Regions from separate parts of the Homo sapiens genome. Here region 2 is linked to region 1. Evidence: promoter capture Hi-C in 16 types of primary human blood cells and fetal thymus (Javierre and others, 2016). All regions are on one chromosome and are shown on one strand. Each heading gives the region's core, a stretch centred on a gene start or on the middle of the fragment in contact. The rest is flanking DNA. Distances are from core to core; before and after follow the strand shown.

What was found. The method cuts DNA at HindIII sites, captures the fragments that hold promoters and counts their contacts. A CHiCAGO score of 5 or more calls a contact.
Region 2: a fragment that was not itself captured here is called in contact with the fragment with the promoter of NDST3 in region 1 in 1 of 17 cell types (megakaryocytes); the score reaches 5.5 in megakaryocytes.

What each region holds. Positions count from the first base shown.
Region 1 is chr4:118,033,088-118,035,787 of GRCh38, reverse strand. NDST3 (N-deacetylase and N-sulfotransferase 3) reads right to left here and starts at 1,302. Exons shown (of 14, transcript NM_004784.3): 1 at 1,196-1,302. The HindIII fragment of the contact is 5,573 bases long and covers 992-2,700 here.
Region 2 is chr4:117,566,811-117,569,510 of GRCh38, reverse strand. The region is part of intron 2 of LINC01378 (long intergenic non-protein coding RNA 1378); the gene reads right to left. Among named protein-coding and RNA genes, the nearest start is that of LINC01378, 140 kb to the right of the region's middle. The HindIII fragment of the contact is 8,689 bases long and covers 1-2,700 here.

The DNA.
Region 1 (2,700 bases), core at 53-2,552:
AAATCTTCTGTTTTACCATCAAGATGATAAAGAAAAATGATAACAAAATTAGAAATGGTAGATACTGTGTTAACCAGAGAAAGAAAAAAAAGAGCTTATCTTAGGCAAGCCTCTTTATATGTTCAGTACTATTTTAAAAAGGAGCCTCCTTCAAACTTATATTTGAAATCTCCATCTTAAATATAATATTGATAGGAAGGTATGGATGAAGAAAAAGGGAAAAAAATTCCCTTCAGCTGAATATCGGATATTCTAGAGTTTCTCTGCCATATCATCCTGCTCTCTGGTGGTGAACAGCATTGCTCAGTAGTTGATAACATGAAATTTTCTAAGGGCAAAAAAAAAAAACAAAAAAAAAGTGTGTGTCCCAGATCAGTTGCACACATCTCAATATTTGATTTGTATTTTAATTTAATACAAATGTATTAAGAATGTAGCTGTTTGCATTGTCTAGAAGGGTTTTCTTCTAAACTCTTCCAGATTACATGTTGCTATATTTCAATATGTTTATAAAGAATATAGATACTAATACATTTTCGACATTAAATAACTCTGATGCTTAAACAGTATCCAGCTATTAGAAAAACTATTTGAAAAAGGATCTGAGTAAACCCCTTAAAGATGTAACTTTGCTTTTACCTGCCCCCACAAAATGGATATATTAAATAGAAGATATATCTGTTTTCTTTAAATTTAAAGTTTCTGTATTTGATACCTAGATTGATTCTTTCCATTTCCATTTAATTTTATTAATTGTATAGTTTTAAATAATGTCTATAAACTGCATCAAATAGAAAGCCTTTTGAGGATCATTACTGTGTAGATAGGCAGGTAGTTTAAAGTCTCTGATATTCCTTACAAAATTCTGTCAAGGCAACAGACATGTGTTCTGTTAAACAGATCTACTTCAGAATCATTATAAGTTGGTGAATATCTTAAACAATTACAAGAGGTCATTTCTTTAGTACCATAATCTTATGAAAGGGAAGCTTTAAAATCATCCCTGAATGAGACGGTCCTTTGTTTCACTTAATTTAATCAAAATACTCTATATTTCTTCTTCAAGAATAAAATGAAGCACTTGTTCAATCTTGAAATTTTTAGATTATTTGAAAGCAAAGTTGTTATCTCTTAAAAGCCCCTACATTTATGAGTGAGGCATTAATGCACAGTATAAATAAATAAATACACTTACCTGGAATTAAAGTTCAGAGCTGAAAATGCTTGAGAAAGTTGCAATAGATGGAAAAGAAACGGAAACAGTACCACTCGTTACCATCGGCTCAGGCTTTTTGACTTTACAAGTGGTAGCAACACCAGTCCTGGCCCAGTACTCTCATGTTATGTAACATCTTATTAATATTAGCCATCAAACTGCTACCAAGCTGGTGAGGCACTAGAGGGCAAGAGTGTCACATGCAAGACCCGTCGCCAAGGGACCGGCTTTGGTACCACTTCGGGGGAAGACAGATGCTAACTAAGCTGATGAATAACAGGATGCCCGAATACAACAGCAAACTTGTAACGTTCCTCAAAGAATATTTTACATGTCAATTTTCTGACTAGCGGAAGAGTTAACAGGTTAATAAATATGAGCAAGCAAATAACCACACCATGAAAAACTTTTAGGATTATATTTACAAACCCACAGTCACTCAAGAGGCTGTTTGTTTTTTTCTTTCCATTGTCTAAATAAACTTATTTAAAACAGGAGAAAAAAGCTGGTTAAATAAAACGAGTGTCGGTTTCAGGACTCCCTCATTCCAAGCCGCGAGAAACTTGTCTGGTCGAGATGCCGCCTCTGGAGTCCGCATTCCAAGGCGCCCGGATCGGGTTTCTGGGCGAGGAGACCGGCCCCGTCCTCCATGGAGATTACCTGGGGCTGCAGCCGTCCGCGGGCTCCTCCTTCCCTCGGGTCTTCGGCCTCAGCCGCTCCCCAGGGCCCCTCGTCCGGGTGGCGCTTGGGTGCTACGCGGTGCCCGGGGTCCGGCGGGGGCGACAAGCGGGCGACCTCTCCCCTCCGCGCCCGGGATCTGCGCGGACACAGCTGGTGGCGACTTCGGCCGCTCAGGCTGCGGCTGCGGGGCGAGCGCAGCGGGTGCGCCGGGGACTCCTGCGCTGGAGAACCACGGCCCTGGGACCCGCCCGGCCGCGCCTCCGCCGCCCTCGCCACCGCCTCCCGGGCGGGAGCCGCCGCCTCCCAGCTCCCGGCCCGCGCGCGCCCGCCCCGGGGAAGGGGAGGGAGCGGGAGCTGAGGACGGGAGCCGCCTCCATCGACCGGGCTCCCGCCCGGACCGGCCCTGAGGATCTGGCTGCCCGGGCCTCGACAAGGAGACCCCGGGGGTTCCGCCCCGGCCTGCCAGTTCCGACCGCCCCTCCCGGCGGGTTGGCGGCGGCCGCCAAGGATGAAACGTCTTGTGCGGCCAGGGAAAGGGGTGCGAGTCCCCGAGGCGACGCTGGAAGGGTGGGGCGCACCCGCGCGGTCCCTTCCTGTGGTGCTCCTGCCGTTGGCACTGGACCAGGGCGGCTGCGAGGCTGCAAGAGTTTCCTCTGTTCGCCAGTTTTTTTCAAATGCCATGTGTTTCAGCTCCTGAAGACAAGTGGAAGGCCAGCAACTGAAGAGATATTTTGGATTCAAGGTGTGAGGTTACCCTCTCCAGAACTATAGTTTGATTAGAAGTGTGAATCGAATGATATATA
Region 2 (2,700 bases), core at 9-2,508, 470 kb after region 1:
GGCTTTCACGTGCCTGGGACTAGGGTTATATGAGAAAGAATGTAATTCCCTGAATTAATACTCTGACAAAATTTAAACTATATTCAATAATACATCCTTTGGGAAAAGCAGAAATTAACATCACTGTCCAAAACTTGGAAGATGAAATGTTGATTTCTACTGTGTTCATATTTTACTTGTCTGTTTTCTTGGGATAGAACATGAAAAATGGCAACAATTTATTTTAGGTTTAATCAGGTGATGTTTCCTTGCTTGCTACTATCTCATATGTGTTCTTTGTATTAAAGTAAATCAATATAACCTCTGTCATCTGGCACGTGGCAATAATATTTAATTTTTTTATACCAGTATACAGAAAGAATTAGAAAACTAAGGGCAGAAGTATAAATTCAGCATCTTTCTTTGACTCTTAGTCTTGATGCCCTATTTTGGTCTTCTGGGATATGGATTATCTCTCCATCTCATAGGATTTTACCACCGGTTTATGGCAGTGAAGACATCATGATGTCAGAATCTGGGGGTAGGAAGTAGCAGACTTAGAAAGACACATGCTAGAGCATAGGAGATAAGCCCCATAAAAATGTAAGGGTCTGTCAACTTAGTGAATGTTCTGAGTGCAGGGTTTTGCATATATTTGGAATATCCCCTAAATGTGTAAAAGTTTTTGTACCTCTCATTCATTTTTCAATTTTAGGAAGGATATAATAAAATTAATTGCGAGAACTCAAATGACTGGATCTTTTTTTCATGTTGCTTTAATACCTTGCTTTTCAGTGGGTGGCATAAAAATGGGTTTCTTATGTTGCTACTCTTTTCATTTTTACTGAAATTTTATTTACCTTATATTTATTTGTTTAGGTAATTTCTTACCAAGTGTTGATGAAGCTAATAGATTTACCAATAGTAGACCCTAACCAAAACTTCTGAATATTATTCTATAATTTTGGCAAATGTCCATTACTTTAGAAAATTGTTACTTCTATGATAAAAAACACATTCACTTCTAAAATCATGCTTTAAAAATCCACCATTAGCTGGCTTATTTACACAATTAATTGTATTAAAATAAAAAGATAGTTTGTCACTCTGTATAGTGTGATTCCTATATTTAAATATAATTGTTTAGTATAACAGTGCTTTTACATGTATCAGCTTTAATTTTCTTGTGGATTACAGACCTGTGAAGTTTACAGCATATATAAATATAATGTGTATTCTACAAAAGAAAAATAATGATGTTTCAAGAATTTCTGTTCAACATCCAGGTTATAAAACTTAGGTTGAGAGTCTCAAAATTAAGTATTTTATTACTTTAACAAATATTTTCATATTCTTATTAAGCAACCTCCTCTGTTTCTCACAATTTAGAAGTCCATAAAAAAAACTTGTGTATATGTAGTAAGCAGAAGTGATTAAAAGTTCATGATTTATTTTTCTGAAGTTGTGTGATAGGAAGAGTTGTTATTTTAAATAAAATTATTTTTATATTCAATATTTAGATAGGTAATAACTTTTTAGCTTGACTCTAAGTACATCATTAGGTGGAGCAAAAAATGATTTTGCTTTGCAGTAGACGATTGAAAATTAAGTGACTTTTTAATGCCATATTGATGACTATCTCTAAATGATCTAATCTTAGATTTTTATTGAAATACTCAGAAACTGCATACTCAATTAGATGGACCACTGACCTATTCTGGTTTGAAACCTTCTATACATTTTTTATTCTCACAGTTAATTTTGTTACTTCCTCTAGAGCTCTTTTTGTAGATACTCAGCAGTCATGGTCTCTATGAATGAAGTAAATCTAGACGAGTTGCCAGTACTCAGATTACTCACACATATTTGTGTAAAATATATTACACTGAAAACTTAGGCGATAAACGTTTTTCACCTATCAGGAAAATATATTAGAATAGAATCTAACACCAACACTGTGCTAGAATAGAACTTGACACTCACACTGTGCTGGAAAATATAAATAATCATCAAGATTCATATATGCTCCTGTAATGTCTTCATAGGGCCTCTTACAAAGTAGATGTTCAATAAGTATTTACTTAAAGTTTGTAAAAGCTCTCTTTGCAAATTATGGTCCCTTCCTTAATGCTTATGACCACCACATGAATAAAGAAAACCACTGATGAATGTGATGATTTCTTGAGTCTTTCAAGCAGTTCCTTTCATGAAGTAAGCACACAGTGATTTCTTGTTGACAACAAATTGCAGTAATATACACAGCTTTCACTTATCTTTGTCTCAATGTCAACAGACTATTTTAGTTTGCTATATAATCCAATTACTTTTCTAAAATAGCCACATGAGCATCTCTTAAGCCTTTGCAGAATCTAAAGATAAAATGTGAAAATATACTAGCCTAAAATAGCAATCTTGTATTTACAAAATGATGGCATATATTTATGCCATGCTGTCTTTTACATATATATGTACACAAACATATACAGATACATCTATGTGTTATAGAAGTGTGTGTTAGTAAGCACATACACATTCACAGATTCATATATATAAAATATATACACACTAGTTATAAAAATATGTTAATATTTTATTCCAAAAATTAGCAGCTCTCGTGTGAAATAATTTAATGATATAAGGATCAAAAGTATTTACACTGGCTTTCCTGTCATATGTAGCAATGCCTTAATAAGAATAAAATGTTATATATAACAAAATTTA